Linked DNA regions of Homo sapiens: regions 2, 3, 4, 5, 6 and 7 are each linked to region 1. Evidence: promoter capture Hi-C in 16 types of primary human blood cells and fetal thymus (Javierre and others, 2016). All regions are on one chromosome and are shown on one strand. Each heading gives the region's core, a stretch centred on a gene start or on the middle of the fragment in contact. The rest is flanking DNA. Distances are from core to core; before and after follow the strand shown.

Evidence for each region. The method cuts DNA at HindIII sites, captures the fragments that hold promoters and counts their contacts. A CHiCAGO score of 5 or more calls a contact.
Region 2: a contact is called between a fragment that was not itself captured here and the fragment with the promoter of ADAMTSL4 in region 1, in 2 of 17 cell types (fetal thymus and erythroblasts). The highest score is 6.9, in fetal thymus.
Region 3: a fragment that was not itself captured here is called in contact with the fragment with the promoter of ADAMTSL4 in region 1 in 5 of 17 cell types (activated CD4 T cells, fetal thymus, erythroblasts and 2 more); the score reaches 6.4 in activated CD4 T cells.
Region 4: a fragment that was not itself captured here is called in contact with the fragment with the promoter of ADAMTSL4 in region 1 in 2 of 17 cell types (erythroblasts and naive CD8 T cells); the score reaches 7.3 in erythroblasts.
Region 5: a contact is called between a fragment that was not itself captured here and the fragment with the promoter of ADAMTSL4 in region 1, in 5 of 17 cell types (endothelial precursors, erythroblasts, neutrophils and 2 more). The highest score is 9.6, in endothelial precursors.
Region 6: a contact is called between a fragment that was not itself captured here and the fragment with the promoter of ADAMTSL4 in region 1, in 1 of 17 cell types (endothelial precursors). The highest score is 5.9, in endothelial precursors.
Region 7: a fragment that was not itself captured here is called in contact with the fragment with the promoter of ADAMTSL4 in region 1 in 1 of 17 cell types (neutrophils); the score reaches 5.1 in neutrophils.

Annotation. Positions count from the first base shown.
Region 1 is chr1:150,547,887-150,550,801 of GRCh38, forward strand. It overlaps ADAMTSL4 (ADAMTS like 4), which reads left to right and starts at 1,522. Exons shown (of 19, transcript NM_019032.6): 1 at 1,522-1,613; 2 at 1,936-2,009. LOC124904417 reads left to right here and starts at 2,404. Exons shown (of 1, transcript XM_047438226.1): 1 at 2,404-2,915. The coding sequence starts at 2,404. It overlaps ADAMTSL4-AS2 (ADAMTSL4 antisense RNA 2), which reads right to left. Exons shown (of 6, transcript NR_187269.1): 6 at 678-864. RefSeq lists silencers at 707-1,001, 933-1,082, 1,253-1,392 and an enhancer at 2,728-2,915. The HindIII fragment of the contact is 42,411 bases long and covers 1-2,915 here.
Region 2 is chr1:150,979,043-150,981,957 of GRCh38, forward strand. LOC105371438 (a long non-coding RNA gene) reads right to left here and starts at 2,463. Exons shown (of 3, transcript XR_922135.3): 1 at 2,379-2,463; 2 at 2,162-2,271; 3 at 916-1,044. It also overlaps a transcript of ANXA9 not described here. The HindIII fragment of the contact is 1,084 bases long and covers 967-2,050 here.
Region 3 is chr1:150,961,829-150,964,743 of GRCh38, forward strand. SETDB1 (SET domain bifurcated histone lysine methyltransferase 1) reads left to right here. Exons shown (of 22, transcript NM_001366418.1): 17 at 302-330; 18 at 759-891; 19 at 1,146-1,311; 20 at 1,702-1,913; 21 at 2,167-2,255; 22 at 2,419-2,909. The coding sequence ends at 2,536. Among named protein-coding and RNA genes, the nearest start is that of CERS2, 12 kb to the right of the region's middle. The HindIII fragment of the contact is 977 bases long and covers 905-1,881 here.
Region 4 is chr1:150,943,832-150,946,746 of GRCh38, forward strand. SETDB1 (SET domain bifurcated histone lysine methyltransferase 1) reads left to right here. Exons shown (of 22, transcript NM_001366418.1): 8 at 89-162; 9 at 1,087-1,277. Among named protein-coding and RNA genes, the nearest start is that of SETDB1, 19 kb to the left of the region's middle. RefSeq lists an enhancer at 278-422 and a cis regulatory region at 350. The HindIII fragment of the contact is 8,160 bases long and covers 1-2,915 here.
Region 5 is chr1:150,927,018-150,929,932 of GRCh38, forward strand. It overlaps SETDB1 (SET domain bifurcated histone lysine methyltransferase 1), which reads left to right. Exons shown (of 22, transcript NM_001366418.1): 2 at 687-957. The coding sequence starts at 698. Among named protein-coding and RNA genes, the nearest start is that of SETDB1, 2.1 kb to the left of the region's middle. The HindIII fragment of the contact is 3,618 bases long and covers 1-2,915 here.
Region 6 is chr1:150,904,377-150,907,291 of GRCh38, forward strand. The region is part of intron 1 of CTXND2 (cortexin domain containing 2); the gene reads left to right. It overlaps LOC107985204 (a long non-coding RNA gene), which reads right to left. Exons shown (of 3, transcript XR_001738231.2): 2 at 2,626-2,715. It also overlaps the pseudogene CYCSP51. Among named protein-coding and RNA genes, the nearest start is that of CTXND2, 19 kb to the left of the region's middle. The HindIII fragment of the contact is 6,110 bases long and covers 1-2,915 here.
Region 7 is chr1:150,887,460-150,890,374 of GRCh38, forward strand. The region is part of intron 1 of CTXND2 (cortexin domain containing 2); the gene reads left to right. It also overlaps a transcript of LOC107985204 not described here. Among named protein-coding and RNA genes, the nearest start is that of CTXND2, 1.8 kb to the left of the region's middle. The HindIII fragment of the contact is 3,730 bases long and covers 1-2,915 here.

The sequences.
Region 1 (2,915 bases), core at 272-2,771:
AAGCCAGGCATGGTGGCGCATGCCTCTAATCCCAGCTACTTGGGAGGCTGAGGCAGGAGAATCACTTGAACCTGGGAGGCGGAGGTTGCAGTGAGCCGAGATCGCGCCACTGCACTCCAGCCTGGGCAACAAGAGTGAAACTCCATCTCAAAAAAAAAAAGAAAAAAAAAAGATAAAACTAATAGATGGATTGCTCTTGTGGTTAAAAAAATTCACAAAAATAACATTACATAGCTGGGTGCGGTGGCTCACGCCTGTAATCCCAGCACTTTGGGAGGCCGAGGCGGACGGATCACGAGGTCAGGAGATCGAGACCATTCTGGCTAACACGATGAAACCCCGTCTCTACTAAAAATACAAAAAATTAGCCGGGCGTGGTGGCAGACGCCTGTAGTCCCAGCTACTCAGGAGGCTAGGGCAGGAGAATGGCGTGAACCTGGGAGGCGGAGCTTGCAGTGAGCCAAGATAGCACCACTGCACTCCAGCCTGGACGACAGAGTGAGACTCCGTCTCAAAAAAAATAAATAAATAATAATATAATAATAATAAACATAACGCAGAGTAAAAAGCAAAAGCCTTTTTCAGTCCTCCCCCAACCCTGCATCCCTCCCCAGATGTCACCAATACTACTGAGTTTGGGGTGCATTCTTCCATGTATAAATGCATAAAGAGACATATCCAAGCCCATCATATATATTAGATTAGTCCCATTTTGCAGATGAGCAAACTGCACCACACAGGGGTGGAAGTATTCGTCGAAGACCACATAGCTGGCAAGAGCTGGAGCTGAGGTTCAAATCCAGATCAGTCTGACTCAGAAGTCAGCACGCTGTCCTTTCGCTGAGTCCCGAGTGTAAAACCTTACTGAGGAAAAAAACCGAAGCTCATAGAAGTCCCAGCAATCTGAACCACCACTGCCCAACACGGGAGAGGCAGGAGTGACTGAGTTTGCAGGGGAGGCTGCGTGGAGGGGAGAGCCTGGACCCACGCGGATCGGGGGCCGCGGGTACCTCCGTCCAGGGCGCTTCCCTCCCGGACCAGCGGCTCTCCCAGGCCGCCTCGCTCCAGGCGCCCCTGGAGGCTGCCCCGCCTGTGCCGCGCCGCGCCGCGCCGTGTTCGCACCGCTCACCCGAGCGGCTCGGAGGCCCGGGTTGCTTAAGTCCCTAGTCTCAGCCGGGCACGAGGACAGCGCCCGGGAGCGACTGCAGCCTCTGACCCCGGCTGGGCCAGCCCGGGCTGCTTAAGTCCCTAGTCTCGGCCGGGCACGAGGACAGCGCCCGGGAGCGACTGCAGCCTCCGACCCCGGCTGGGCCAGCCCGGGCTTCAGCTCACGCAGCCGTCGGGGGGCGCCCGGCGCGCAGCCCGGGGTGGGTGGTCCTGGCGAGTGGGGCTGCGAGGCAGACCGGCCCCACCCCGGGGCCGCCGAGGGGCGCGGGCTGGGGCGCGTGGCGGGCGGGGCTGGGCGGGGGCGGGCGCGAGGGCGGAGTTGCGGCCGAGGCGGCCGTGACCGGAGCGCGGCTCAGGGGCCCCAGTGGCCGCCGCGGAGCGAGGTTGCCTGGAGAGAGCGCCTGGGCGCAGAAGGGTTAACGGGCCACCGGGGGCTCGCAGAGCAGGTAGAGACCTCCCCGGGACCCCGGCCCCGGCCGCCCCTCTCCCGGGTCCCGTTAGACCGCCCGCCCCGCGCGCCCGCGTCGTCCCCTCTCCCTGCGCTGTGCGGTCGCGACCCCGCCACGACCCCGGACCCAGCTCCGGTGGCCTCGGACAATCTTCCAGCCCCTGGGGTCGAATTCCTGGGGAGGGAGTCTGATCCCGTGGAACTCTGGCCCCATCACCCGGGCGGGGAGTGAACCAAAATTCCTCCTAAGTCACATAGTAAAGTTGGAAAACAGACCCATGACCTCCCCGCGCGGCCGGTGCCTCCTGCCCTCTCTCTAGGAGGGTGCTCTCGGACGGTGTGTCCCCCACTGCACTCCTGAACTTGGAGGACAGGGTCGCCGCGAGGGACGCAGGTGGGTGCCCTTGATCCAGCTCAGCCCGATGGCAGAAGAGGTTGACAAAAAAGAAAGACACCTGTTGGGGTGGCCTGCCAGACCCAGGAGTGGAGGGCTCTGAGGGCCCGGGAATTCGGACTCAGGACAGGGATTCTCCATGGCTAGGCCCAGAAACACAGGGTCCAACCACTCTCCAGCAGGGAGACCTGGGGGTGAAGGGGTGAGCCCTGCGCAGGTCTCTGTTCCTTGGTCTTCACTGGGCAGTGTGGAGAGGTGTGGCCAGGAGGAGCCCGCGTTTGTCCAGACCAGGGTCTACTCTGGCACCAGAGTGACCACCTCTGACCTCTCCTTTCCTCGTCCTGGGCCGGGAACGACACCAAATGAGGGACATGGAAAGGGGTGAGAAGCATAAATGTGCGTGTGTTTCTGCAGAGGAGGGGGCATGGGCCCCTGCCGGGCTGCGCAGGGGAGGGTGGGGTGGGACTTTTCCAGAGAGGGAGCCAGGCCTGGCCCGGGCCCCGGGAGCTCACGTCACCCCCACCCCTCACTTCTCCAGGGAACTGCCAAAGCCAAACCCAGCTCGGGATGGGATTATGTGTACTGGGTAGACCCGTGGAGAGGGGCTGCGAGAAGAGATCTCGGTGGCAGAGAGAAGCAGAGGCAGAGAGGGCATGAAGAGGGGTCGGCATCAGAGAAGGGGCAGGCAGTGACTATCACCCCATTTCTTCTTCCCTCAGCTGGAGTAACAAGAGTCAGGCAGAGCCTGAAGACTTGGGTGGAACATGGGCCCTTCTCTGGAGATCCTGGCCTCCCCCGTTCAGTCAGGGTGGAGTTGCTGACCTTAGTGGCCGGCCCAGCCAGGGGAAGGAGTGGCCATCGGCAACCCCCACCCCAACCCCAATCCCTGAGGCGCCCGCTCTGGCT
Region 2 (2,915 bases), core at 259-2,758, 430 kb after region 1:
TGGGGAAGGAAGGTGATCAGTACAACTGTAAACAACTGCAATCCGGCCCTGAAGTTGAACAAAACAAAACCTAGGGAGAGGAATGAGTTTGTAGCAGGTTTCAATGCAGCGATTGTGAACGCATCACACACACACTCCTCACAGGCAAGGACTTCGCTTCTGCCATGTGACTGAGACTCTGTTGGACTTCTCCAAATTCAGAGTTCAGCCTGGCATGCCGGCCAGGAGCCCCTTGGAGAGATTCGGCGTGAGGAAACAGGAGGCCTCACGCTTCCTTCGGTTCTCCCTAAATCTGCTGGGCAGGTAGCCAGAAGAAACTCTGAAGGGTACAGAAAGCCGAGGGCCAGGGGGACCCCGGCTGCGGAGCTGCAGTACCGTGTTTACCCAGCCTAACTGCGGTCACCCAGTCTCCTGCATGTGTCTGAGGTCAGCCTCGGGGGCTCCCCTGAGTAGGTATCTACCTGAGGCTCTTCCCCTGATGCTACCTGCATACCAATTCCACCCAGGAACCTGGCGTCCTCAGGAGGCTGCACTTCCCAAGTGGGCTGAGACAGCCCCTTAATATGTGGGGCTGGAGCCAGAGACCTCAAGGGGCCACTAGGGGGCTCGAGACTCTCAGTGGCTGCTGACGCCCTCTTGTGGCCATTTTGGGGATTGGCCAGAAAAGTTTCAGAAGCGAGCCAAGATCGGAATTCTTAAGGAGGTAAGTAATAACAACAGTAACAGTTACCATATAACAATACTTATCGTTATATATTTGATAACATTGTGACATTTCTACTTAACAGCGCTGTGCCCAGAACTCTTCTAAGTGCTTTATATGCACTGTAGTTATTTAATTCTCACAACAACCTATAACATAAACACTATTACTTGTCTGTTGATGATGAGGAAACTGAGCACAGAATAGTTGCCCAAGGTCACACAGAAGACCAGAATCCCGACTCTGAGAAGTCTGGCTCCAGAAGCTTTGCTTTTAGCCACCACGCTGAGACTGAGTTCCATTTTGGGGTTGTCAGGTGAAATACAGGACACACTGTTAAACTATAATTTCAGATAAACAAAAAATAATAATTACAGGCGGTGGCTCACGCCTGTAATCCCAGCACTTTGGGAGTCCAAGGCAGGTGGATCACGAGGTCAGGAGTTCGAGACCAGCCTGGCCAACATGGTGAAACCCTATCTCTACTAAGAATACAAAAAATTAGCCAGGCATGATGGCAGGCGCCTATAATCCCAGCTACTCGGGAGGCGGAGGCAGGAGAATCGCTTGAACCCGGGAGGTGGAGCTTGCAGTGAGCCAACATAATGCCACTGCACTCCAGCCTGGGCAACAGAGAGAGACTCCGCCTCAAAAAAAAAAATGTTAGTATATTTAATGAAATATTTGGGTCATACTTGTACCAACAAATGATTCCTCATTTACGTGAAATTCTGATTAAGCTGCATGTCCTGTATATTTATTTATTTAATCTAATACCCCTACTTTACAGGGCACTTTTCTCTGCCACATGCAATTACACAGATTACTTTTTTTTTTTTTTTTTTTTTTTGAGACGGAGTCTCACTCTGTCGCCCAGGCTGTGGAGTGCAGTGGCGCCATCTCAGCTCACTGCAACCTCTGCCTCCCAGGTTCAAGTGATTCTCCTGCCTCAGCCTCCCGAGTAGCTGGGATTACAGGCATGCGCCGCCATGCCCGGCTAATTTTTTGTATTTTTAGTAGAGACGGGGTTTCACTGTGTAAGCCAAGGCTGGTCTCGATCTCCTGCCTCATGATCCACCCGCCTCGGCCTCACAAAGTGCTGGGATTACAGGCATGAGCCACCGTGCCTGGCCACATTACCTTATTTATTTATTTATTTATTTATTTATTTTTATGAGTTCAATAGTTTTTGGGGACAAGGTGGTGTTTGGTTACATGGATAAGTTCTTTAGTGGACACATTACTTCATTTAATCATCCCAGGAAACCTGTCCTCGGAGGCCCCAGCATGTCCCACAGCCTCCGTCTCTCTCAATCCTCCCATTTAGAGAGCTGAAAGGACTAGCGAAGCTTACAGAACATAGGTGGCAGAGCTGGATATTGAACCCTCATTCTCCAGTTCTGACACAGGTGCATGTTTTCCTTTTAACAGGAGAGAAAAGTGAGGAGCAGTGATTACCGCCACAGAAATATCCTTTCATGGCGTGTCCTCCGGCATGGTCTACTCAGTGTGGTGGAGCCACTGCAGGTCCCTCCTCCAGGGATGTAGGAATGCCAGTGAAGGCCTTCCTGAGTTGGGAGAGAGGCAGAGGAGTGAGTGGAGGCAGGGCTGTAGCTTCTGTGCCCCGCCCCTACCCAGGCTCTCCAGGGAGGCAGGAAAGAGGCTGTGTTTAGACCTGAGGGAGCCAGCTGTGAGGCTGGAGCAGTTGCTGCATGGCGGGGCGGGGGCTCCACAGGGCTGTTCACCTGCTGCTCTGTGCAGAGACAGCCTCAAGTCCAGCTGCTGGGGTTGCATCACCTGCAGCTAAAACAGCCACAGGGCCCAGGCTGCCAAAAGGCAACAGAAGCAATCTAAGAAACCAGGCAAGGGAGCCTCCCCCATCTCCCTGTTGCCTTTTGGGAGCATAGAGCTTCCCTCTGAAGGTAACACCCTTTGCATTTTTCTCTCTTGACTCTGTTCATCAACTTCCACTCCCAAATACTTGTGCCCTTCCTTCTCCACAGATATACACAATCCCTGGGCACTCTCCACCTAGGTCAGCTGGCTCTAGTAAGGCAGCAGTCAAGGGAGTTTCTGGGCTGGGACCCCCTCTGGGGTGCAGGCTGGGGTGCCCTGCTGGTATGTGCCCCAACAGGTTTTTCCCTATCAGCCTTGAAATCAGCCTGCAGCCTGTCTGACCTGCCCCCCAGGGAGCTGGAGCCAGAGGCAGAGC
Region 3 (2,915 bases), core at 143-2,642, 410 kb after region 1:
TATCTCTTTGATGATTATGCTGCTTTCCACATTACAGATGGTGAAACTGTCCCTGGTTGATGTAATCCTGCTCGTGGTGTTTTCCATGAGCATTAAGCCCCATCACTGAGAAGGCTTAAAGGCTCCAGCCAGGGAGTGTAGTGAGGATTTCTGTCAAGTTGCAGAGTGGTTTACCCACCCCACTTTAGAATGTGTACCTGTCACTGGCTGATGTTATCTGTGGAGGTCATTTGAAGTCTGATTATTGGACTTGTTACCCGAGGCTGTGAAAGCATTTAACCCTTCACTTGTTCTTTTCCAGGACACTGACGACCGAAACAAGATGTCAGTGTAAGTGCCTTTTGTTTTGTTTTGTTTTGAGACAGAGTCTTGCTTTGTCACCCAGGCTGGAGTGCAGTGGCGTAATCTCAGCTCATTGCAACCTCCCCCTCCCAGGCTCAAGAGATTCTCCCACCTCAGCCTCCCTAGTAGCTGGGACTACGGGTGTGCACCACCATGCCTGGCTAGTTTTTGTATTTTTTGTAGACACGGGGTTTCACCATGTTTCCCAGACTGGTCTTGAACTCCTGGGCTCAAGCGATGCTCCCAAAGGGGATCCTCAGCCTCCCAAAGTGCTGGGATTACAGCCATGAGCTACCGTGTCCAGCCCAGTGCCTGTCTTTTTGACCTGTCTCCAAATCTGCCTTCTCTCAAACCTAGGCTAGAAGCCTAAGAAACAGCCAGTAACCTGTTGGCTTCATTCCTTCCCCTCCCATTAGAGTTACTGAAAGCTCTCGAAATTACGGTTACAATCCTTCTCCTGTGAAGCCTGAAGGACTTCGCCGCCCACCTAGTAAGACTAGTATGCATCAAAGCCGAAGACTCATGGCTTCTGCTCAGTCCAACCCTGATGTAAGTCACCTCAAGCTTATTCAGAGTCTAATAAAGGAAAATGGGCCATTGTCACCTCATCAAGTCCTTCACTATAATTACTGTTAGGTCTTCTCCTACTTCTTTAGCCTTGACTTCCTGCCTTATTTTCTTTCATCCAGCATCTAATCTTCCTCTTGCCACCGCCCTTTCCTGCCAAACCGTGGGTAACAGCAAGGACTTAAAGGAGCCCTTCCCATTTACTTCTCTTACTTCTTACCCTCCTGCTTCCCCAGGATGTCCTGACACTGTCCAGCAGCACAGAAAGTGAGGGGGAAAGTGGGACCAGCCGAAAGCCCACTGCTGGTCAGACTTCGGCTACAGCGGTTGACAGTGATGATATCCAGACCATATCCTCTGGCTCTGAAGGGGATGACTTTGAGGACAAGAAGAACATGACTGGTAGCCTGGAAAAATTTTGGGAATGGTGGGAAGAAATAGTAAGAAACTTGGGATAGAGCATTTTTTAAGGAAGCTAAAGAAGTAGTGGGTAAAAATTCAGATCCTAAGAATTGGAGCATCTCTGGGAGGGCTTTCTGACTCCAAGCTAAACTATTGTTTGACACATCCTCTCTCATTTCCATTTTTTTACTCTTTCCCCTCAGCTCCTTTGTCTAGCAGATCTAATTATGCTTGAAAAAAAAACCTGCTACTTAGGATCTTTGAGTTCCAGCTTATTGGTGTTTCTCAGCTGCAATGTTGGGAGAGAAATAGGGGTAGAATGTCCATTCATGATAGAATGTCTGTTCATGAGTTGGGATGGGTCCTGACCCCATTCTCCCTCCTGTCCAGGTCCAATGAAGCGTCAAGTGGCAGTAAAATCAACCCGAGGCTTTGCTCTTAAATCAACCCATGGGATTGCAATTAAATCAACCAACATGGCCTCTGTGGACAAGGGGGAGAGCGCACCTGTTCGTAAGAACACACGCCAATTCTATGATGGCGAGGAGTCTTGCTACATCATTGATGCCAAGCTTGAAGGCAACCTGGGCCGCTACCTCAACGTGAGACCCCTCTCCCCACCTCTAGATGCTGGATTATCCCATGGTCCTCAGATTTCTTTTAACATACTCTATAAGCCCTTTTCTTGTTATAAACTCTTGATCTCAAAGGATCTTAAAGAGGTAGCTTTCTTTCAAAGCATCTATTATAATGGGGAGGGTCAGATGGCATCATTTTTCTTCCAACTCTCACTCTCCCTGCAAAGCCAGGTTCAGTTTCCCTGGTTCTTATTTGATCCTGTCCTTAAACCTACAGCACAGTTGCAGCCCCAACCTGTTTGTCCAGAATGTCTTCGTGGATACCCATGATCTTCGCTTCCCCTGGGTGGCCTTCTTTGCCAGCAAGTAAGGAGTCAGGAAAGGGGATGACTGGGGAGGGGCAAGGACCACTGAAGTTCTAAGGGCCCCTCCTCCATTCATGATCCAACTCCACCTACATATTCAGTAACCCCAAGTGCCTGGGTTATCTGCTGTCTTTGCCACACACCATCCTTTTCTTCCTCTTCAGAAGAATCCGGGCTGGGACAGAACTTACTTGGGACTACAACTACGAGGTGGGCAGTGTGGAAGGCAAGGAGCTACTCTGTTGCTGTGGGGCCATTGAATGCAGAGGACGTCTTCTTTAGAGGACAGCCTTCTTCCCAACCCTTCTTGAACTGTCGTTTCCTCAGGAACTGGGTCTTCCTGATTGTTGAACCCTGACCCGAAGTCTCTGGGCTAGCTACTCCCCCCAGCTCCTAGTTGATAGAAATGGGGGTTCTGGACCAGATGATCCCTTCCAATGTGGTGCTAGCAGGCAGGATCCCTTCTCCACCTCCAAAGGCCCTAAAGGGTGGGGAGAGATCACCACTCTAACCTCGGCCTGACATCCCTCCCATCCCATATTTGTCCAAGTGTTCCTGCTTCTAACAGACTTTGTTCTTAGAATGGAGCCTGTGTATCTACTATCTCCAGTTTGTATTATTTCTTGAAAGTCTTTTAACAATATGATAAAACTAAGATTGT
Region 4 (2,915 bases), core at 207-2,706, 400 kb after region 1:
GAAGTAGAAGCTATGATAAAATAATTTCTGTGGATCATGTTAAATATCATAACCCCCAGATCTTTCTGCTGTCACTCTTCTTTTATAGGTTTCTCATTTTCTTTGATGATGGCTATGCTTCCTATGTCACACAGTCGGAACTGTATCCCATTTGCCGGCCACGTGAGTGTTTCTCCCTTATTCCTTAGCTCAGTTTTCTCCTCTACCTTGTATTTCTTCTTAGGACATCCAGTTGAAAAGCCCTAGTGTTTTTGGTATTTCAGTCTCAAAGAGCATAAGTTTGGTTGATGTCTTTTGCTCCCAAAGGTCAGTTTGCTCCCAAAAGAGATACAGTTTTATTGTTCATCTCCAGGACTGGGTCTTTGTAGACAAAGAGTGAGACACTAGAAGATCATGAATGGCCTTGAGTAGACTGCTCACGTTATAGATGTGCTTCAATTTCATTTCTAAGTGAGTTACGTTGGAAAAGGTGTTACTTCTTTCCTAGTGTCATACTGCACCTAACATTTGTATAAATGTGTAGTCTGCATAATGCTTTCCACAGAAGCTGTGTTAGATGGAACCTCATAGTGTCCACTATATTTGTTACCCTGGCTTGGGAGCAGACTCCTATGGAAACAATCATTTTTAACTGCAGAAGAATCAACTAACACTTTTGTTTACACATAACATGACAGTAAACACATTCTGAGTCTCTTAAAAACCTGATAGAGAATGAGAAGGAAGGACTAATTTTTTTCATTTCATGATGCCACCTGATCTTTTTAAATTTACCACTAGACTGATCAACAAGTGAGCAAGAATTTCCACTTGAATTTTCCAGAGGAGAAACATCCATTTGTGTAAAATAAGTGAATCACCTATATTGTACATTTCTTATTTAGTATTTACTTGATTTGTAAGTATGTACAGTTTGTACATTAGGTTTATTACTTAGGTGGTCTTGGCTTTGCTTCCCTTGAGGTTCTGATTTTACTTTTTCTCTCCTTTTCAACTTAAAAAGTATCAAATGTCTCCTGGCCAAGTCTTTTCCCTATCAAGACATGCCCTACCTGCCCTCTCAGTTCTACTTCTTCCTTGAAACAGTGAAAAAGACTTGGGAGGACATAGAAGACATCTCCTGCCGTGACTTCATAGAGGAGTATGTCACTGCCTACCCCAACCGCCCCATGGTACTGCTCAAGAGTGGCCAGCTTATCAAGACTGAGTGGGAAGGCACGTGGTGGAAGTCCCGAGTTGAGGAGGTGGATGGCAGCCTAGTCAGGATCCTCTTCCTGGTACTGTTCTTCTCTACAATTTTGGAGGCAGAGGTTGGTGGGGGGGGAACTTAAGAAGCAGTAATGAGGATGGTTTTATAGCTATTCCATAGCCTTCCTCTTTCTTATCCTCGTATGTGTTCTCACTGTTTTTGGTCAAATTTTACTTTGCCCTTTTTGTTGTTCCTCTGCAGGTCATTGTTGAAAATAAATTATCTGAATTATAATACGAATCTGCATGGTTTTGATTTATTTATTTTTTTTCTTTAGGAGTATTCACATTGTGTGTAGGTACAGAAAGGGCAGCCAATTCCATTTTTCCAGGGTTAAGGTTTTAGTAGGATAGTGGGACGAAGAAGAGGGATCAAGGAGTCCTGATTATCTTTCAAGGCTCAGTTTAACTCTTAGGTATTTTGTACTCATCCTTTTCTCCCTTCTCTCTCCCTTCTTAGAATCATATTTCTTATTTTTAAAAGTTTTAAAAACATTTTTTAATACTGCTGCTTGCAGAACAAGGCTACCTGATAGGCAGTGTGCCCAGAGTAGCCAGAAGAAATTAGAAGTTATATTTCTTCTTGGTGTTACCTCAGCCCGTTACTTCTAAGGCCTTATGATCCTTATCATGCTTTTTGTTTGGTGTTTTGTTTTGTTTTCAGACGGAGTTTCACTCTTGTTGCCCAGGCTAGAGTGCAATGGCACGATCTCGGCTCACTGCATCTTCCGCCTCCTGGGTTCAAGTGATTCTCCTGCCTCAGCCTCTCGGGTAGCTGGGACTGGCTAATTTTTTGTATTTTTAGTAGAGACGGGGTTTCACCATGTTGGCAGGCTGGTCCCGAACTCCTGACCTCAAGTGATCCACCTGCCTTGTCCTCCCAAAGTGCTGGGATTACAGGCGTGAGCCACCACGCCTGGCCTGTTTTGTTTTGTTTTGTTTTGTTTTGTTTTGTTTTTTGAGACAGTCTCACTCTGCCACCCAGGCTGGAGTGCAGTGGTGCAATCACAGCTCACTGCAGCCTCAACCTCCAGGGTTCAAGTGGTCCTCCCACATCAGCCTCCCAAGTAGCTGTGACTACAAGTGCATGCCACCACACCTGGCTGATTTTTGTATTTTTAGTAGAGACGGGTTTCGCCATGTTGCCCAGGCTGGTCTCGAACTCCTGAGCTCAAGCAGTCTGTCTGCCTCATCCTTTCGACATACCAGGATTATAGGTGTGAGCTATTGTGCCCAGCTGTCATACCTCTTATACTCAGTATAGATATCTGTTGCTCCTGTAATTCCTTAAACAAGGAGTATATATTTTTCATTGTTGTGTTCCTGATACCCATCATGGATCCTGGCACATACTTTATTAAGTAGATAAGGAATTTTTTTTTGGGGGGGATGGAGTTTCGCTCCTGTTGCCCAGGCTGGAGTACGATGGTGCAGTCTCGGCTCACCACAACCTCCGCCTCCCTGGTTCAAGCAATTCTCCTGCCTCAGCCTCCCGAGTAACTGGGATTACAGGCATGCGCCACCACACCCGGCTAATTTTGTATTTTTAGTAGAGACGGGGTTTCTCCATGTTGGTCAGGCTGGTCTTGAACTCCCAACCTCGGGTGATCCACCTGCCTCAGCCTCCCAAAGTGCTGGGATTACAAGCTACAGGCGTGAGCCACTGT
Region 5 (2,915 bases), core at 416-2,915, 380 kb after region 1:
TTTAAATTAGGCATAGCATACAAAGATTTATCACATTAGTTAAGGAACACATATAGACCACAAAAATATCTTATAGATTGGTTCTCTTCAGTATCCCAAAAGATTATTTTTAAAGTTCGGTTTGTTTTGAGACAGGGTCTCACTTTGTCACCCAAGCTGGAATGCATGGCGCGAACATAGCTCACTACAGCAGCTACTCCTGGGCTCAAGCGATCCTCCCACTTCAGCCTCCTGAGTAGCTGGAACTAAAGGCGTGCACCACCACACGTGGCTAATTTTTGTATTTTTTTGTAAAGACGAGTCTTGCCATGTTGCCCAGGCTGGTCTTGAACTCCTGCCCTCAAGCGACCCTCCTGCCTCGGCCTCTAAAAGTGCTGAGATTACAGGTGTAAGCCACTGTGCCAGCCCAAAACATTATTTTCAGTAGCTCTCTACTGCTTAATGAATGTTCTCCATGCCGTCTCAAACTCTTAAATCTTTTTCAGGAGTGTTAGCGTACAGCAGAAGATAAGAACTCTTAAAAATCTCAGCATCAGATTCTGGAGAATAGGGAGGGAGAACATGGAATATTTGAATAGAATAACAGGCAGCAGAGTAGGAATTAGTTTTATTAGGGAACTGAAATTCTCTATTGATTGATTGTAGTTATAAGGACTCCAATTTAATTTGTTTTCTGTTCCATGCAGAGGACAAAAGCATGTCTTCCCTTCCTGGGTGCATTGGTTTGGATGCAGCAACAGCTACAGTGGAGTCTGAAGAGATTGCAGAGCTGCAACAGGCAGTGGTTGAGGAACTGGGTATCTCTATGGAGGAACTTCGGCATTTCATCGATGAGGAACTGGAGAAGATGGATTGTGTACAGCAACGCAAGAAGCAGCTAGCAGAGTTAGAGACATGGGTAATACAGAAAGAATCTGAGGTGGCTCACGTTGACCAACTCTTTGATGATGCATCCAGGTGAGAACTCCATGGAAAATAGAAGGAAATCTCTCCATTGGGAGATGTTTTTAGAGAATAATTGTTCATGACATTGAACCAAGCATTTTATTTTATGTTTTGAGACGGAGTCTCGCTCTGTCACCCAAGCTAGAGTGCAGTGGAGTGATCCTGGCTCACTGCAACCTCCACCTCTCGGGTTCAAGTGATTCTCCCACCTCCCCCTCCCGAGTAGCTGGAATTATAGGCATCCGCCACCACACCCAGCTAATTTTTTATATTTTTAGTAGAGACAGGGTTTCACCATGTTGGCCAGGCTGTGTACCAAACATTTTATACTTTATGAAGTACAGATGTTTAGAACCTTACTCTTCCTCAAAGTTTATGGTCAAAAATCTGACCTTACAATCAGCCGTAAATATAATTTTCATCTGTCAGCAGCTAATACATGATCAGCAGTAAGGGAGTCCAAGTCTTAAGTCCTTTCCCCTTCTTCCTCCTGTGCTCTATCTTAGAACAATTGCTTCATTTCCCTAGTAAGATCATCCAGGGAGTGAGGATTGTAAAGAATTTCTGTCTTACGTAACTCTGAAGCATTAGTAAGTTCCCATACCCCCAAAAGATTTGTTTCTGGTGCTCTAGTTGTCACTTAGAATACATTGTTTTTAAATTTATTATACTTTAAGTTCTAGGGTATATGTGCACAACGTGCAGGTTTATTACATATGTATACATGTGCCATGTTGGTGTCACTTACATTAGGTATATCTCCTAATACTATCCCTCCCCCTTCCCCCCACCCCACGACAGGCCCCAGTATGTGACGTTCCCCATCCTGTGTCCAGGTGTTCTCATTGTTCAATTCCCACCTATGAATGAGAACGTGCGGTGTTTGGTTTTCTGTCCTTGCTATAGTTTGCTCAGAATGATGGTTTCCAGCTTCATCCATGTGCCTACAAAGGACATGAACTCATCCTTTTTTATGGCTGCATAGTATTCCATGGTGTATATGTGCCACATTTCTTAATCCAGTCTATCATTGATGGACATTTGGGTTGGTTTAAAGTCTTTGCTATTGTGGATAGTGCCGCAATAAACATACGTGTGCATGTGTCTTTATAGCAGCATGATTTATAATCCTTTGGGTATATACCCAGTAATGGGATTGCTGGGTCAAATGGTATTTCTAGTTCTAGATCCTTGAGGAATCGCCACACTGTCTTCCACAATGGTTGAACAAGTTTACAGTCCCACCAACAGTGTAAAAGTGTTCCTGTTTCTCTACATCCTCTCCAGCACCTGTTGTTTCCTGACTTTTTAATGATCGCCATTCTAACTGGTGTGAGACGGTATCTCATGGTGGTTTTGATTTGCATTTCTCTGATGGCCACTGATAATGAGCATTTTTTTATTTTATTTTTATTTTATTTTATTTTTTTTTTAGACAGAGACTTGCTCTGTCTCACCCAGGCTGGAGTACAGTGACGTGATCTCGGCTCACTGCAGCCTCCGCCTCCCGAGTTCAAGCAGCTCTCCTGTCTCAGCCTCCGGAGTAGCTGGGACGACAAGCGTGTGCCACCACACCCGGCTAATTTTTGTATTTTTAGTAGAGATGGAGTTTTACCATGTCGGCCAGGCTGGGGAGGTCAAATTCCTGACCTCAAGTGATCTACCTGCCTCAGCCTCCCAAATTGCTGGGATTGCAGGTGTGAGCCACCACTGCCAGCCAGGATACATTTTCAGATAACAGCAAGGTAAATAATGAGGTAAGGGTGAAAGTACTGTACTTTGGGCTTACTTTGGATTTTTGAGGAACTAGTCTGGAAACTAAACCACTATTTAAAACATTTTTCTATAGAAAAAGCATTCTAAATTCTAAACAGAGACACTTTGGAATGTGGCCCATTTAAATTGAGGACTGTCTATACTTAAATATATATACATCGTAATGGATTCTATATCTCTTAATTCCTCTACTG
Region 6 (2,915 bases), core at 255-2,754, 360 kb after region 1:
TGAATATGTTCAGTTTTTGAATTTTAATAGTAATTCCAATTCAGTAAATGCTATCACTGTTTACCCCTTCTAAAGATATGATTAGACTTTGTTAGTAATGTTAAACTTTTCACAAAGATGGTGAGTACCATCTTCAAACTTACTGGAGATTGGTTTTATATTTAGATTTATATAACTGGTTATGTGAATATATTTGAATACTGGAGAAATTCCTTCACTGTCTCAGAACCAAGCAAGATTCACCTGTGTTTTGTGTCCATAAAGGCAAGGGTTGAAGATAAATAAGGTAGTAATGTCTACTTTATATTTTTGGCCTTAACTATGCCAATCTAATTAGAATTCCCTGTATTTAAAATGGTTCCTTTTACTTATTGAAAGACATTTTAGTGTGTTTTATGTGTAATATCAAAGATTATTTAGCATTTCTCACATTTTATAAATGATCTATAAGGTCACATGCTTTTAAAATAGTAGCAAGTTAAACTTCACTCTTGAATGCTTGTCAAACTAAGTTATAATTTAGGATAGTCTTTAAACAGCCATTCAGAAACATAAAACTGTAGAACTGCTATGTATTTGTGATTGGGAATGATGCTTTTGCCAACTTAAAAGGATTAAAGTAGAGGAGATACACACAAATTTTAAAATTATGTGTGATCATAAGACAAGATAATCAAAAAGAAAACCACACACACACACACACACACACACACACACACACACACACAAATCACCCTTCATAAGGAACTTGCAGAATCTGCCAATTCTTTTTTTTTTTTTTTTTTTAGGCCGAGTTTCATTCTGTTACCCAGGCTGGAGTGCAAGGGTGTAATTTTGGCTCACTGCAACTTCTACCTCCCGGATTCAAGTCATTCTCCTGCATCAGCCTCCCAAGTAGCTGGGACTACAGGCACACACCACCATGCCCAGCTAGTTTTTGTATTTTTAGTAGAGATGAGGTTTCACCATGTTGGCCAGGCTGGTCTCGGACTCCTGACCTCAGGTGATCCCCCCCAACCTCGGCCTCCCAAAGTGCTGGGATTATAGGCATGAGCCGTGGCACCCGGCCTTATCTGCCCATTCCATCTGCACATCTGGGAGGAGTCCAGGGGGTGGCATGAAAACCCAGTGTAAAAGATATGAGTGCAACTTACCCTGTTGCCCCAGAATTGTGGTCAAGTCTTATTGAAGGCACAATACTACTTATAATCTAAAGAAAGCTGCAACAATTAGAGCCAGAACCTCTTCCAAATCTCATGAGAAGATGGCGTAGTCAATCGTATATCCACCAACTCCCACCCCTTGTCCCACCACAGTATATATAAAGAATAAGGCCGGGCGCAGTGGCTCACGCCTGTAATCCCAGCACTTTGGGAGGCCGAGACGGGCAGATCACGAGGTCAGGATATCGAGACCATCCTGGCTAACACGGTGAAACCCCATCTTTACTAAAAATACAAAAAATTAGCCGGGTGTGGTGGCAGGCACCTGTAGTCCCAGCTGCTCGGGAGGCTGAGGCAGGAGAATGGCGTGAACCCGGGAGGCGGAGCTTGCAGTGAGCTGAGATCACACCACTGCACTCCAGGCTGGGCGACAGAGCGAGACTCCATCTCAAAAAAAAAAGAAGGATGAACTGGGGCCGGGTGTGGTGGCTCATGCCTATAATCCCAGCACTTTGGGAAGCTGAGGTGGGCAGAGGGTTGCTTGAGCCCAGGAGTTTGAAACCAGCCTGGGCATCATAGTAAGGCCTCGTCTCTACAAAAAATTTAAAAATCAGCCAAGTATGGTGGTGGGCACCTGTAGTCACAGCTATCCAGGAGGCTGAGGCAGGAGGATCACTTGAGCCCAGGAGGTTGAGGCTGCATTGAGCTATGACCATGCCACTGCACTCCAGCCTGGGTGACAGAGTGAGACCCTACCTCAAAAACAACAACAACAACAACAAAAAGAATGAACTGGGAGGGCAACTGGGAATTCTCATTATCGGCATTATGGGATGTACAAAATTTGTGATGAGAAGCAAAGATAAAAGTACTTCCCCTTCCTCCCAAAGCCAAAGATGAGGGCATGCCAAGAGAGACATTGGTACAATTGGTGACACCAGCAAGGAGAGACTAACAGCATTTCATTCCCTAGATAGATGCTTTAAACTGTAGAACCTGCCAAACCACTCTGGTCAGGTTGGAGTAAAGCATGGTGTGAGTTTTTAACCTGTGCAAACATAAAAAATCATGTCAATTTCTTGGCTACAGAGATCTGAAAGTGGAAGGCCCACTGGAATAATCTGTGCTGGCAGGGTTTATAGGTACCTTGGCAGAGTATGCCTAGGAAGAAAATGTGGCCAATCCCCCCAACCCATCACAGTCTGGCCACTCCCCTTGAAGGACTTCAGGTGTCTCCGAAGGAGCAGGAGCAGTGGGAGGTGCCAGGAGACCACTGTACCAAGCCATGTGATATCCAACGTGAGTTTAGGTTGGGAGAATAGAGGATAAGCAGCACCATTTGAAGGGGTCTTCAATGACAGAAAAGTCCAGAATGAAGAGAAACGCTACTCAAAAAACTACAAACATCCTTCACTCTGAAACCACCAGATCTAACCAGAGTAAGACCAGGTCACCTACTCACAGTTGGCCACAGCTGATTCATTAAATAGAGAAACACTTCACATTTTCCCCTTCCTTTCTTCCTGATCCTGTACAATGCAGAAGAAGAAGCCTGAAAAGGGAGAAGAGCTAATAGAACTCTAAATCCTCTATAAGATTAGGAATTTAAAACTGAACTAAGGTTTTACAAAAACCAGCTTTATTAAGATATAATTCACATACAATTCAACCATTTCAAATGTACAATTGAATGGTTTTTAGCACATTCACAGAAATGTTTTACCATTACCACAGTTGTAGAACATTTTTATC
Region 7 (2,915 bases), core at 305-2,804, 340 kb after region 1:
TATTATTATTATTTTTAGAGGCAGGATCTTGCTATGTTGCCCAGACTGAACTCAAACTCCTGGTCTCAAGCAACCCGTCTGTCTCAGCCCAAGACCTTTTTCGTTAGAGCTTTTTACGAAAAGTTAAACTTTCATCTGAGAAGGGATGTCTTGAGCATAGTCTCTTTTTGAGGAAAGTTGGGGGGACCTCTGATTAGTCCTATTAGCCAGAGAGTGTCTTTGATTTTAAGGATTATAGTAAAAAAAAGCTGCATTATTGTGTTTCTTCACCATCATCTCTCTCTTTGCACTAAACTTATGGCCAGGAGAGAAAAACTGGGTCTTTTTAGTATTTTGGTCTTCTTCAAGAATGGCAGGTCATTGCAGGTGGGAAGAATGAAGTGATCTGGAAAAGGAACACAGAGAAAGGAAAAGGTAATGGATCTTTCTGGAACTGAAAGTGGAATTGATGTTGCCAAGGATTTGTAAATGCCATTATTCTGATTCTTACTTTAGTAGGTCCAAATTTAACATAAACCAATAGCTTCACACCACACCTCCTTTCTCCTACTATAATCCCAAGAAGTGCTGCTACTCATCTCAAACAAAACAAGAACCTTAAAAGCCACTTAAAAAAAATTCTAAGACAGGTATTCCCTTTGGAAAACAGATTTTAGCTCTACCATTTTTGAAAGTGTATTTCTCAAGAAAAGCTATTTTGCATAAGAATTAAATTTGTTGTGACTTTTCCCCCCATTTTGAAAACATTTTACCTAATTTATTTTTTTTTTTTTTGAGACAGTCTCACTCTGCCGCCTAGGCTGGAGTGCAGTGGCGCGATCTTGGCTCAATACAACCTCTGCCTCCCAGGTTCAAGCAATTCTCCTGCCTCAGCCTCCCGAGTAGCTGGGACTACAGGCGTGCACCACCATGCCTGGCTAATTTTTTGTACTTTTTAGTAGAGACAGGGTTTCACCATGTTGGCCAGGCTGGTCTCGAACTCCTGACCGAAGGTGATCCCCCGCGACCTCGGCCTCCCAAAGTGTTGGGATTACAGGGGTGAGCCACTGCACCTGGCCCTAATTTTGTATTTTAAATCTTTTATTCTTTCCTTAAAGAGAGACCCCCATGTTGTATAAATTTTAGGCCATACAAAATCTGGATCACTGCATATGAAAATGAGTAAAAAATATACATGGCATACTTAGAAACAAAACAGCATTTTCCTTTCTAATAAGAATGTATTTTATTATTTATTTATTTATTTATTTAGACAGGGGCTTGCTTTGTCACCCAGGCTGGAGTGCAGTGGTGCGATCATGGCTTACTGCATCCTTGACCTCCTGGGCTCAATCGATCCTCTCACATCAGCCTCCTGAGTAGCTGGGAGGGACTATAGGTGCGTGCCACCACGCCAGGCTAATTTGATTTTGTTTTTGTTTTTTTGTAGAGATGGGGTCTTGCTATGTTGCCCAGACTGGTCTCGAATTCCTGGGCTCAAGCAATCCACCCGCCTCAGCCTCTCAAAGGGCTGGGATTATAGGAATGAATCACCGTGCCTAGCCGATCTCACTCTACTTCTGAATTCCAGTCCCACATTTTAGCCTCCTGAGCATATTGTATCAGTGCATTTAAATTCAGCCTACCTCAGACTGATTTCATCCTAGTACCTTAAAATATCTGCCACTCCTCTGGGTGCAGTGGCTCACGCCTGTAATCCCAGCACTCTGGGAAGCCGAAGCGGGCGGATCACGAGGTCAGGAGATCGAGACCATCCTGGCTAACAGGATGAGACCCCGTCTCTACAAAAACTTAGCCGGGCGTGGCAGCGGGCACCTGTAGTCCCAGCTACTCGGGAGGCTGAGGCAGGAGAATGGCGTGAACCCGGGAGACAGAGCTTGCAGTGAGCCGAGATCGCACCACTGCACTCCAGCCTGGGCGACACAGCAAGACTCTGTCTCAAAAAAAAAAAAAAAAGCAACTCCTAAAATAAATAATTCTATGAATGGCATCATTTTTCTTTCAGCTTTCCAAATTTAAGCCCAGGAGTTTTCTTTATCACTTCCTTCTTCTTCCCACTACATGTCCACTTAATTTCCAGGTCGTCACAAATTCTCTTTCACAATCTCACATCCATTCTTTCCTTTCTGTTACTCACTGTGTTATCCTAGCCCTTGTTTCCCCTTGTTGAGACTGCTAAAACTCCTCTTGTTGTTTTCACCCTATAGTGTGTGTTAGCTCCAATACTTTTTACGCACTCTTGCCAGTTATCTTCCTGAAGTATGGCTTTGATCATTTACCTGCCTGAATTCAACAAGTATGAACTGTTGTATGCACTATGTGCCAGACACCGATAGAGATTCATATTAATTCATTCATGTAGACGTATTAAATACATAAAATATGCCAGCCCTCCCCAGGCACTGAATCCATGCTATGAATGGGACAGACACCTAGAGCTTACATTCTAGTTAGAATCAATGGGATACACAGTAAGATATGGCCCCTGCTCCCAAAATGTTTATCTGCTCAAAACCTTCCATTGCTTCCCGATACCTGAAAGAACAAAATTCAAAGTCCTTGCCCTGACTTTCAAGGTTCAGTATGGTCCTGTCTTAAGCAACAGAAGTATAGTATCTAGATGAATAATCTTGAGTTTGCATGCATCTTGTATTCTGTATTGGGCACCACATTTTAAAAGGAATATAGACACACTAGAAAATCTTCAGTAGAAAAAGGGTAGAGTGGTAGACCACATCCTCTGAGAAACCAATCAAACGTACTTAATAGCTATTTTTAAATTACTGAAACTCTTGTGTATGGAAAAGATATGTGTTGCCTTAAACAGTCCTAAGTAAAAAGTGAAGCTGTACTAAGAAGACAGATTTGGCTCAAGGTAAAAAATTACTGCCTTCCAGAACCTTCTGAAATAGATA